3 separate regions of the Homo sapiens genome follow, and all the other regions are linked to region 3. Evidence: promoter capture Hi-C in 16 types of primary human blood cells and fetal thymus (Javierre and others, 2016). All regions are on one chromosome and are shown on one strand. The core of a region is centred on a gene start or on the middle of the fragment in contact, and the rest is flanking DNA. Distances in the headings are between cores, read along the strand shown.

The links. Contacts are between HindIII fragments. The CHiCAGO score rates a contact against its expected background, and 5 or more counts as called.
Region 1: a contact is called between a fragment that was not itself captured here and the fragment with the promoter of RTP2 in region 3, in 5 of 17 cell types (fetal thymus, naive B cells, total B cells and 2 more). The highest score is 8.5, in fetal thymus.
Region 2: a fragment that was not itself captured here is called in contact with the fragment with the promoter of RTP2 in region 3 in 1 of 17 cell types (neutrophils); the score reaches 6.0 in neutrophils.

The regions. Positions count from the first base shown.
Region 1 is chr3:188,933,066-188,937,446 of GRCh38, reverse strand. No RefSeq gene overlaps it. Among named protein-coding and RNA genes, the nearest start is that of TPRG1-AS1, 12 kb to the left of the region's middle. RefSeq lists an enhancer at 1-70. The HindIII fragment of the contact is 244 bases long and covers 2,116-2,359 here.
Region 2 is chr3:188,759,407-188,763,904 of GRCh38, reverse strand. It overlaps LPP (LIM domain containing preferred translocation partner in lipoma), which reads right to left. Exons shown (of 12, transcript NM_001375462.1): 9 at 3,623-3,792. Among named protein-coding and RNA genes, the nearest start is that of MIR28, 73 kb to the right of the region's middle. The HindIII fragment of the contact is 1,108 bases long and covers 1,024-2,131 here.
Region 3 is chr3:187,700,588-187,704,827 of GRCh38, reverse strand. RTP2 (receptor transporter protein 2) reads left to right here and starts at 2,271. Exons shown (of 2, transcript NM_001004312.2): 1 at 2,271-2,863. The coding sequence starts at 2,700. LOC100131635 (hCG1645011-like) reads right to left here and starts at 2,462. Exons shown (of 3, transcript NR_034062.1): 1 at 2,289-2,462. The HindIII fragment of the contact is 5,389 bases long and covers 1-3,813 here.

The DNA.
Region 1 (4,381 bases), core at 988-3,487, 1.2 Mb before region 3:
ACATCAGATGTGAAGTGATTTTGAACCCTGACCCACACTCCGATCCCCTTGGAGAACATAACTACTCCTGGAGGTGGAAGCGGATCCTGCCTTAATGGATAAAAACTGAGACAAGTCTTTTGTTCTTTTTAATACCCCAAAGGGTTGAGCTTAAGCCTTTCTGTAGGAGCAAAGACATCACCGTAAGGCAAACAGTGCTAGTACAGAACCATAAAACCCTTCTCAGCATCTAAAGGATACCCATTATGTTCATCTCAAAGTCAGAGTTATTTACTTTGCCTTTTACGTTGACATTCTTTTCTCTACTATGATAGTTAGCAAAATTGAATGAGAAAAGGCCCAAGTTCAAAATCCGCTCTGCTGCTTACAGGCCTTCTTGGTTTCAATAGTCAAACCCAGTGATGATTCTTGCCTGAGCAATCTCAGGTTGTTATGAGGAGTAGAGAATATGTAAATATGGGAAAGGGCTTTGTGACTATTCAGCTCTCCACATGTAAGCGGTTGTAATCATTCACTGACTAAACCTATCAGGTGGATTTTCTTCAACCTCAGTTGCTGCTTCATTCTCCCTTAGGGTCATGAAGTATCAGCAAGAGGCTGTTACTAGTTTTCTTGGGCTGCCTCCTGTCTGTCTCAGTCTGTATCTACAATGGAACCGACAATGAATCATATCTGTGGAGCACCAGGCAACTCAGCACTCCAGTCTGTTAAAGTGTCTTGCACTGCTTATATTACAGCAAATAAAACAGGAAAGGAAAATATATTTATTCCCATCATTAATAATCCATCATGCCTAGTCAAATTGGTCATAGTAAACTGGAACAATCACTCTTGCCTACAACAGTCTCAATATAAGGGAGTTCATTGTGCTAGCTGGGAACTTGGGACCAGATCATCCTGGATCTCAGTGGGCCACTTTCTGGCTGAGTGACCCCACAAAGGTCACTTAATTCCTCATAATTTCCTTATAGATATAATCTTGGTTAATAATAACAACCTATGTAAAGAGTGAGCATATTAAGTTAAATGAGGAAATAATGATAAAAGTGTTACATAGTAAGTCCGCAAGCACATTTGGGTTCCCTTCTTCCTTGCAGGTGAAGGGAAAATAAATAATAATAATGATAGCTGGCTGGGCAAGGTAGCTCACACTTGTAATCCCAGTACTTGGAGAGGCTAAGGAGGGAGGATTGCTTGAGCACAGGAATTTGAGACTAGCCTGGGCAATATGGCAAAACCCTAGCTCTACAAAAATGCAAAAATTAGCTGAGTACGGCAGCATGCACCTGTAGTCCTAGCTACTCAGGAGGCTGCAGTGGGAGAATAGCTTAAGTCTGGGAAGTTGAGGCTGCAGTGAGCTGTGATTGTGCACTGCACTCCAGCCTGGGTGACAGAGCAAGACCCTGTCTCAAAAAAAAAAAAAAAAAGTAAATAATGATAGGTAATACTTACATAGCATCTATGATACAGCAGGCACTGTTCTGAGAGTTCTACTTATTAATATATTAGCTCACCTAGTCTTTGCAACTCTGAGATAGAATGCTGTTTTCATCTAACCTTTACAGGTGGGTAAGCTAAAGCTCAGTGAGATTATATACTTACCTGGGGTCACATAGCTCACAGGGACAGAACCAGGATTTAACTCAGGTGCTCTGACACTACAGTGCTGTGCTAACCTACCATGCTACAACGCTGCCCATGATTATGGATATTAATCCACAGGCTTCTTTCAACTTTATATTCTGAGAGCTGAAACATAGGCTTTTTACCCCTAATTAATATGGCATGTCTTCCTAGACAATATATATTCTAATTACATTTTTAATATCTGTCATTTGTAATGATTCAGCTTCTGATAAGCTTGTTAACTGAATGTCATTTTTTTCTCCACCTAAACTACCTTTGGAAAGTTCACACACATCATGCAGTTATTTATGATTTGAGGAAGAGCATCATATATGTAAACTAAAAAATGTTTATTAAAGTTAGAATTAATAATGATTGATTTGATTTCACTGATGAGTTAATTGGGGAAATGAACAGGTAATTGGGTATTTACAAAAGAAGGTCAAGAATGGTTTGTGGGAGTAGTCAGTCAGATCCATTTCCTAAGCTTTTGCTCAGCCTTTCCTTCCTAAAACCCAGCCTGCTGGGGAGCAGGAAAAGAAAGCAAGGCACCGTACATTTGCTTACGACTGACACACTTTTCTCACAAAAGCTGTGCTCTGATCTGATCTACTCTGACACCTCCAAAGGCACTTTTGTCTACAGAATAAAACCAAACCTCATCTGTTTCTCAAGGGTCCTCCGCACTCGTCTGGCTCCAGACCGCTTGTTCATGACTGTCTTCCAATAAGCTTCAGACCCTTGCCATTCCCCCAAAAAGATTTTTCCCCCCAAAATCTCTAAGCTCTCCATTGCTCCAACAGGCCCTTCCCTCTCTAATTCTGCCAAAGTTCTAGTAAGTTTTCAAGACTGTTTCTGGGGTGTCCAATCTTTTGGCTTCCTTGGGCCACATTAGAGGAAGAATTGTCTTGGGCCACACATAAAGTACATTAACACTAACAGTAGCTGATGAGCTTGAAAAAAAAATCACCGGCTGGGTGTGGGGGCTCACGCCTGTAATTCCAGCACTTCGGGAGGCTGAGGCAGGTGGATCGCCTGAGGTCAGAGTTCGAGACCAGCCTGGCCAACATGGTGAAACCCCGTCTCTACTAAAAATACAAAAATTAGCTGGGCGTGGTGGCAGGTGCCTGTAATCCCAGCTACTTGGGAGGCTAAGGCAGGAGAATCGCTTGAACTCAGGAGGCAGAGGTTGCAGTGAGCTGAGATCATGCCATTGTACTCCAGCCTGGCGCAACAAGAGCGAGACTTTGTCTTAAAAAAAAAAATCACCAAAAAATCTCATAATGTGTTAAGAAAGTTTATAAATTTGTGTTGGGCCAAATTCAAAGCTATTCTGGGCTGCATGAGGCCCACGGGCCATGGATTATACAAGCTTGGACTGTACCTTCTCTACTTGTATGTCCCACATACCCTCAGTTCAGAATTAGCTTTTTCTTTCTTCCATTTCCAATGGCACAAAATAATACTTCTATTTTAGAACTGATCCCTCATTATGTTGCACTGAATTTTGTATGTGTGTCTACTTGTTCCACCAGAGTGAGCCCCTAAATAGTAGGGTGAAGGTCACATTCATCTCTGAATGGTCCTTCATTAACATAGTTCCTGGCAAGAGGAAGTTTTCAATAAATTTGGTTTACTTGAATTGAGCTTCTTATACAGCAGAGTGAAATTATTTTGTGACTACAGTTTGAGAGCATACTCCCCAAGGCTAAAACGGACAATGAACTTTTTTCAACTAACTGTAAGATAGTATAAGCCATCAATCTCTTAAAGCCAGAGGGAAATTCACCTTTAAGCACTTGGAGATTTATTTAACTAAAGGAGTCATTCCACCAGAAAGCATCATTGTGATTTCTCTCATTATCTAAAATGAATAAGAATTATTATAATGATAAATTAGTGGCAGGAGACACTGATTTTTAGAAAGGAAAATTAATAATGCACAGTGAATAAAATCTCATTTAGATGTTCTTTGCACATGCTCTCCAATAATAATCATTCAATTTATAGCACTTTACAGTTAGTGCATCCATATATAATTTCATCTTCACATCAACACAGAAAAGCTAGTCTCATTGCCAACTTACAAATAACAAAACTGAGTCTAGGCAGGCAAGGAAACAAATAACTATTAAGTACCAGAGTTGGGTCTCAAATCCAGGACCCCTGACTATATCCTGGGTTATCTTCTCCCAGGCATTGCCAGCCCAGGAACCTCCCAAGGGTAAGTCCTGCAGATGAGCAGCTTCCTCTCCAGGCCCCTGGGCATCCTAGTCAGAGGCCTCTGTGTATCTGTGCCACCCCAGCTACACTTGGTAGAGCACACTTGAGGTGTCTCAGTGCTATAGAACCACCCACTTCAGGGTGTTTCACTGTGCATAGTCCTCTTAGGCCTCTAATGACATTTCAGAAAATTACTTTCACTTTTTTAATCAAAGTCCCCTGCCTTTACGAAACAATCAGTGTCTGACTCTCTAAATCTCTTCTTCCTATCATAATTGCCATCCCCAGTAAACTGCCTTATTTTTTTCAAATATCTTCTTTCAAAATGAAATTAAGCTTTGGGAGGCCAAGGCAGGTGGATCACGAGGTCAGGAGATGGAGACCATCCTGGCTAAAACAGTGAAACCCCGTCTCTACTAAAAATACAAAAAAATTAGCCGGGCTTGGTGGCGGGCGCCTGTAGTCCCAGTCACTCGGGAGGCTGAGGCAGGAGAATGGCATGAACCTGGGAGGCGGAGCTTGCAGTGAGCAG
Region 2 (4,498 bases), core at 328-2,827, 1.1 Mb before region 3:
AGCAAGGTAATGCAAAAGTCCTCCAGATTAAATTTGATTTGGTAATATAAATCAAAGAATTTATGCTAAGGATGTAATTCAAAATAAAAAATAAAATTTTTATTAACTATCTATAGGCATGTTATTTACAATTCTAAAAGATTGCAAAACACACAATACATTTTGACTGGCAAATGGTTTTAAAATGAAGTGTGTAATCTAAATGTAAAACTAAACAGATAAAAATCTAAAAATGAATACTAACAATGCAAAACTATATGAACATTTGTATTATGTTAATAAATAAAAAATAGAAAACAAAATATGTAAAATGATTAAAGAGAATTACAATGCTATACTGAATCAAACTGTTTAATCATAACTACTTAAGCACAAAGATTAAGAACAAACTCAATAAACCACAGGAAAATATTAAAAATCATTGAACCAAAGCTGCAGACATTACTGGTGCATTTTCCCTCAAAATCATGTAAATTTTTAATTTTAATAGGATCTTAAGTTGATCAACAACCAATTTAGGCAGAAGTAAATTTAATTTACATTAGACTGGTCTCATTCCTGAACTCAGAGTATCAAACATGCTGGTCCTTATACAAAAATAATTAAGCCACTATCTTGAATATTCTCATTCCATCAATTAAAAAAAAAAAAAAGACAGGCACACTGACTGATGGCCAAGGGCTAGGTTTGCTCTGGTTTGTATGGAATACCTTTTAGACATCAGTTTTCAACAGTGTAACCAAAGGCAATTTTGCTGGATCACACAGAATATGCTTCCTGTTCTAAGGCTTTTGGTTCCAAGAGAGACGCATAGTTCTAGGATTCTCCTTAATGCAAACTATCTTCAAAGCCAACTTGTTTTATTTCATTTGCCCAATTTCCTCAACCTCCTTACACTTCTAGTATGCAGCTTATTGGACATATAAAAGTTCAGAAGAAATTAAAGTTCTGATACATCCATCTGAGGGCTTGAGGACTGTGCTGAACTCGAATCAATATTGAACAAGGGTCTTTGGTAAAGCTTAACTGAATTCTGATAAGAATTAAATTACATTTTAGAGTCACCACGAATAGATCTCATTAAAGAAAAACCTTGATTAAATGTTCTTATGAGGGAAAGAAGTAAAAAAAAAAAAATGGTTAGAATTTCCATTATTTGAATTCACCCAGTTCTTCCAAGTACGCGATTAAATATCTCCCGGATAGTTTTCCTTCTCATAAGCATAGTATAGTAACAACAAACCAAAGAAGAAGGGGCTGGCATCCTACAGAATCACAGAGACCCATACTATGCCTGGAATGGAGATAGAAACTTGAGCCCACACACTGTAGAAACCTATTATTTAATCAGATTAGACCTTCTCCAGTTTTGTTACGCACTCAGAAAAGCAAGCAAACATGTAAAAATGCGAGGAGTATGTCTGAAAGGTTATAATAATTTCCTAAAGCCCAGTGAATTTCACTGCACATGTAAGGTTCCCACATTCAGAAATATTAAACAGTTTCAGAAACATCATTAAAGTTAATCCCAGAATAACATTTATTCCACTACTTTTCCTGAAGAGGCCCAGTGTGCTTTACTAGGATTGTCTCATTTCTTCTTCATGGAAAATAACTGCCATCGTCCCCATTATATAGATGAGGCAACTGATACTTAGAAAGAGTAAATAATTTTCCCAAGGAGGGGAGGCACTAAGTGACGTAACGAAATTCAAATTCATGTTCTTCCCACCCTGTTACACTGTTTCCCAATACTGTCTATATGATTTCAAGCTAACAAGGGTTGAAACAAAACAACTGAAGAAGGCTGCTGCCACAGTAGCATCATTAAAGTAGCAAAAATCAACTATGGAGTCAAAAAGGGATAAAAAATAGACAGGAGCTATAAAAAAACACAGCAGTATGTGTTTACTTGGTGTAAGGACAACCCTGGGTGCCTCTACACACTCTGCCAACATCACTACCTTAGGGCTCGTGGCAATAAATAATTTCATAAACGTGGTGCCAAGCCATTGTGAATGACACCCGGTTTAGTCTGTTTAAAAAGGCAAGGAATTATGTAATGCCTTTCTTTTTTCAATAAAGATTTCAAAGATATTTGAAATATTCTTATATTCTAAAGAGGTAAGCTTTTGTTTACTAGACTTTCGCTTATGCATAATTGCTCCTTCCAGATCAACAGTACATTACTTTGTTTATCTTTATGTTTAGGAAAATGAAAACCATGTAGCATCTGCAAAGAATCTAAGACTGTGGAGCGTGAATAACGGAATGCAGCCTTGGTTCTGACACTAATGATAGGTCATACGAAGTCGCTTTCCTCTTCTGTATGTCTTGGCATTCTCATTGCTAAAGAGAGTAATTACGCAAATGATTTTAAGATTTTTTTTCCAACTCTACCACTGTATGGCTCTACATGTGTTTAAGCTACCTTTGGAAAGAAATGATGTTACATGTATTAAGTTACCTTTGGAAAGAAAACGAAATAAAATTGAACCTAAGACAGATGCAAAGCCATATTTAATCCTACGAAGCCTTAATCTTGATGAACTTTCAGATCTGTGCTACAGACCCCAAGGTTACAATGGGTTAGAGCTGCCAAGTTATAGGAAAATACCAACCAGGCCAAAAACGTCTTCAATAAATGTGAACCTTGTAAAGCCAAGTATGACTCCCAATACCTTGGTAAAGAAACCAAGGTGTCTTTTATGTTGAAATCTCTGGGCACTGAGGGACAAACCATGACTGTTTTGTGGGTTTACATAACAAACAAACAAAAAACACTACTTTTCCCATCAACATGTGTTAAACAAAGATTAAAATCATGCTGAAGGATAGCAAAGAAATTTACAATAGATGAAAAAAGTCTGTGTTCATTCATCAAATTACTCTACCAGAGAATAGTTTAACAGGTAGATTAAGTAAGTAGCATTGTAAAACGCTAAGGTAACATGACTGAGAATTTTTTAGTTACCCAGGTATATTATTAAAATATAGTTTTTGTGTTCTGTAATAAAAGAAAACAATGATTAGCTCAGTCAGCATTACTGTTCATTTCTCTTTAAGGTGCTTTATAATAAACAGTTCCCCTGTTTGCATCATTAAAAACCTGTTGGATAAGAGGGGGAAGAAACATTTTGGTAGATAAAAATGGACTCAAAGGGCCCAGTATTCTGGAAGAGGACTGACAAGTCCAGAGATTCTGTAAAGTTTCCTTGAAACTACTGGGCACTTCAAATGTAGGGTGAGATCTTATAAGAGGTGTGACTCAGCTACTTGGAAAGCTTTCTGATGCTTTAAGAAAGAAAATTTTAGCTTGTACATACATGCTAGAAAGCCACAGGCTGATGATCTTCCCAGCAGACCACTAACTGAATGGCAGTCCCATGCTAATACACCTTTCTGACTGCTTATGAATGGGGGATGTGTAGAAAAAAATTACAATATGCTAATTTACATGCGCGCACGCACACACACACACACACACACACACACCCCACACACACATTTTGAAGTCTAGGAAGAAGCAAAGATCTGATGGCTATATTCTATCTAGAGTGACTGGCATTCAGCCACAGAAGACATCTTTGCAAAGTGCTTGAGGAACAAATCTGGAACTTACAATGTAGCAGGGCTCGCAGTATGCTTTCTTTTCCACAGCATAGAATGGCTGCCCTCGGAGCTTGTTGTTGCAGATGATGCAGGTAAAACAATCCACGTGGAAGACCTGATCCATGGCAGTGCATCCTGTACCTTCCCCAACTACGTTTTCTCCACAGCGAGCACAGCGGCCTGGAAAAAAAAGGGTTTGATAAGAACACACCAAGGAGTACTTCAGTCCTGCTAAAGCCAAAGTGGAGGAGAAAGCAGGTTCATAACGTCAGCAGCAATAGAACCACCACTCCTGCCGTCATTACCCCAGTACTATTACCCCATTACCCCAGCAAGATCACCAGTACAGCCACCCCTATCCTCTGCAAGATTGGCATGGAGGGGATTTTACATTAATCGGTTGAGGGGATTGAGTCTCATAGTCTAAGTTCTTGCAGAAAGGAACAGTAGAACCCGGTCGCTGGCTTTGAGGTCAGTGCTCTGACTCTCATCTCACATGCAAGTATAAAAGGAACATGACTCAGGATGTTTGGAGTGGAAGGCAAAATCTATAAAACAGTACAGAAGAGTCTTTCTTCTTGGAGATTCTACACATCCAGTTAGAATGTAAGATAATTGGGTCCAAACTCAAATTTTAGTTCCTTTTACAAAAGCCCTGATTGTAAAACCTCTGCAGCCAGCTCTCAGTGACAGGCAGATCCCAAGGCAGTCCTTTAATTTCTAGATCGCTTTGATGGCTAAAAGGTTCTTTCTCCTACTGAGCCATAGTGCTTCCTCATTCTAACTGCTTACCCCATGGTTCTAGTTCTGTCTTCTGAGACCTTATCTCTCTCTTGGACTTGACATCCTTTAATACATCAAAATTCAGTAAGCATTGCTTCCAAGT
Region 3 (4,240 bases), core at 1,022-3,521:
AGAGGTCAGCTCCCACCCAAAGAGTGGGAGCTTGGACCATGCTGTCGCTAAGTGCTACATCCTGGGGATGGAGAGGCCTTCCTAATATCTCTTGAAAATACTCCCCAGGGGATCTTGGATTCGCCCTATAGCATCGTCTACGGTTCTTTGAATTGCGGAGACACAGGAGAAGATAGGACACACCTTGCATTTGTCCTGGATCTATTTCCTGGTAAAGAAATATTATAAACCACTAGCTCATTTTACTCAATCTTCTTTTTTTGTTTTTCATTTTTGGCCTCCAGTAGCCTGTGGGACAACATATCCCATCAGTAACAATGGCTGGCAATAGAAGGGATTCTTCCCAGGACTGGAGTAGGTGGAGAGCAAATTTGTCTCCTCAAGAACATGTATTGAAATCTCTGAAGCAGAGGTGTATACAGTTTTCAGAACTCTCCAGGTGATTTTGATGTACACACCTTTTCAACTCTTCATTACTTTGTCATTTTAAGCTCCACACTGGCATTTCTTACATTACTCTAATAAGTAAAATTGAATAATAAATATTTTACAAAGCTCTTCATTAACTTGCATTCCAAATTGAAGGGGAAAAGTGATTCTTTTATCCATCCCCTCCCCCTTGCTGATTTGTTTGCAGAATACAGGTGCTCAGTATTTTATTTTATAAAGAAATAACAATTTCTTTATTTGAAAAAGTATTGCCTAGACAAAATATGTATAATGAAGCTGCCAGAGTGTGATGTGGCCACAGCTGTACACAATATACATTTGTGAGCTCTTAAATCGTGGGTTCTGGAATAAGATAGTGTCATTCGCGGAAAATTGAAGTAGTAATTGTGCTCACTGATTGTATGAAAAGTGAAAACAGTGCTGTTACACAGAAAGATGAATTCTATTGGTCTCTGCTTAGAAGCTGCTATGCTAAATTAAACCTGATACTAGGCCTAAGGGGATTGCATTATTTGAGGAAAAAAGAAAATACAGGTAAACCCTGACAATTCTCATCCTCTTTCTGTTTTTCCTTTATTGCCATTTGTTCTGGGAACAAGGGTATACTATTTCTCAGAGGTTCTTTCCTGGCACGAGGGTCTAGGCCAGGCCATAAGCTCATCTCAGCTTCGTTCAGTTCCTGGCCATTCATGGATCCCTCTGTCTCACCTGGTCTGGTAACTGGCTTCTAAGGGAATCCCCAGTGAGGTTTGAGCTACCCAGTCCTGAGAGCCTGGGCCAGTAATTTTCCATTTCCAGGCCTCAGTTGTTTTAATTCAATGTCAATAAATTTTGGTTAAGAAATGAAGAGTTCAAGAAATAAACCAGATTTTTAAAAATAAAAGAGCTCTTCTAGAGCTGTCAGTCAATGGTTCAAAGACAATTGTGTCCTTTCTGAGGTCTTTAGCACAAAGCCGCTAGAGTAACACTTTTCATTTCAAGAGAGAATCCAGTGACATTGTCCCTGACTTCACACTTCCTGAAAACCACTTGGCAACTCAACACCAAGAGCTTCCGGTTCTTAGCAACCTGTTTCACTTCTTGAAGCTCTTTACTGTTGGAACTCTGCGTGTCTAGGGATCCAGACTTCCGGGTTAAAGAATCGTAAGATGATTACAGTTGGAAGTTGGACCAAAGCTAGGGTAAGCAGCCATATGCCTGGTCTTTTCCATGCTCAAGGCAGCCTCCCTTCAGGTAACCGTGTCTTCACTTGGATTACCAAATTTGAAGTCAGATTCCCCTCTGGTTTCTAAAGAATTTGAATTGGGCATCACAGAGCTACGGATGCTCTCTTGCTCCAGCTCAGCAGTAATGGAGGCAGCAGGAGCCTGCAGCACAGAACAAACTCATTACCCCAGCAGCCACCTTAGCCTGGCTTGGGACCAGGAACTGAATATGGGCTCTAACAGTTCTATGACGCTATGAATCTGAAATGTTATTACTGTGCTTTGCATGGCATATGAAATTACATTCTAGCTCACCAACTGGTCTAAGATTGCCCTGGGCAAAGAGATGTTACTTCTCACTCAATTCCCTGTTAGGAGCACAATAGTACTAAAATAAATAAACAAATGAGCTCGGTTTCAGAAGGCCTAGATCTGAATCTTGGATGAGCCACTTAGGGGTTGCATAAACTTCAGTTTCCTGATCTGATCTGCTTTGGCCAGCACACAGGTCAAGCGGTTTGTGCTAGGCACATGGTAAGTGATGGTCACAGCATATCAGGGGGTGTGGAAGCAGCAGGCTCTGCCTTTCCCTGTCCCTCATTTCTCCTTGACTTCCTAGGGTGTCGTACTTACCATAGCACATGATGTGGAGAATGCTAGAAGAGCAGTTGGGTGAAGCAGGGCCACCAAATAGTCCTTGCCTCCTGGAGACCTCTGGAAATCCAGATGAGTGTGGTCTGAGGTTGGGCCTCCCACTGTGCTTGCTCCTCTCAGGCCTACCCAGCGCTGCCTCTGAAGCCTAACTCAGGGCCCTGAAACTCCCCCTTGGGGCTTCCCTTCTCCCCAGCCCTCACTCTTGGTGCCCTGCCTGGCTACCATGGTAACAGGTTCCAGGGTAACAGAGGAGGGAGCTGGGTCCTGTTTACTCCCAGTCCTGCCGATGAGGATTCTGACCGTAGACACTGAATTGTCCCGTACCTATCCGTGCTCTTTCTGTGTTCTCACCAGGGCTGAGCTCGAACTGCCACCTCTGCCAGCAGGACCATGTGTACCAGCTTGACCACTTGTGAGTGGAAGAAAGTCTTCTATGAGAAGATGGAGGTGGCAAAGCCAGCGGACAGCTGGGAGCTCATCATAGACCCCAACCTCAAGCCCAGTGAGCTGGCCCCTGGCTGGAAGCAGTACCTGGAGCAGCACGCCTCAGGCAGGTGAGAGGTTCAGTGGGGAGGGACCTTGCAGACAGCCCCTGGGTCACAGCTGTGGGGTACTTTCCAAGGAGAGACAGAGCCCAGTCGCGGGCTTATTCTGGTGTCAGCTCAGATGGGGAAAAAGACAAAGACAGCCGGCTGGGTCAGAGAGTTCTTGCTTTTAATCCTAGCAATACCACTAACTCCCTGGGTGACCCTGAGAAAGTTATGTTCCATCTTTGGGTCTTAGTTGTCCACATTAAATGAAGAGCTGTAATATCATCTATGTCCCTGCAATCTCTGACATTTAGAGTGAGTTGGAACTGAAGGAAGGAGGCCATGAGGTCCATTGGGGAAAGTTTTAATCTAGGAGTTGGGGGAATGCAGGGGGTACAGCTATGCTCTGTTCCTAGATATGTTTAGTGAATTAATCCAATTTGATCTGAATACATAAACATTTATTGACCACCTGCTGTGTGCTACGAACTGGCTCTATATAGCTAAGTAGCCTTGTAAACTTGGCAAGTCTGTTTCCCTTTCTGGCTCTCAGTTTTTATATTTACAAAATGAGGGGGTTGGTCTTAGATAATAGATCCAATCCACTCTAGCTCTATTATCTATGCACCTGTGATAAAAAGATTTAGCTTTGAGCAAAACTTTCTTTAGGAACTTAGAGCCCAGGGTCCCACTCTTTATAGGAGCTGCACATCTACCACAGGGCAAAGAGTCCTTGAGGCCAAGGGGACGAGGCCGTCTAAAGTCCACATGCCTTTCCTCCTTTTAGATCATGATTGGGGACTGGGACTACAGAAATTCCTCCCCAGACTACCTCAAGTCCATCTGTAGTGTCTGTGCAGGCCTTTTTCCTGTGTCCTTGGATTCAAGAGAGGCCAGTAAGTGGCTGTGCTCTGGAGATGTAGCCAGAACATGGACACAAAGGCTGGGTTGTTCACGTGTATGTGTGTGAAGCTTCTCATGGTGCAGAATGGTGCTGAGGGTGGGAACAGAGGAGGCAAGATGTGGGTAGGGAGCTTACGTTTGTACTCTTGTCCCAAGACCTGGAATTATTGGAGTAAACCTGCCTTGTGAAAAAAAGACAGAAAACCAGAGGTTGGCTGATTCATGTCAGTTCCATCAACTCAAGAAGCATCTATTGGGTACCTGTTATGTGCTGAGCACTGGCTCTGCCTCTAACTAGCTGTGTGTACATGGATGCCTCTCTTACTATCTGGGCTTCTGTCTCTTCTCAGTGAAATAAAGGGCTGACTAGATGCTTCTTAAGCTCGCCTGCCCCCAGATCTGATATTTTTGAATTTAAGATGTGAGGCCTAACTTGATGTAGGTGAAGCAATTCTGGGTTGGTTTGATGTAAAAAGGTGTAGAAGGAGACTGAAAACA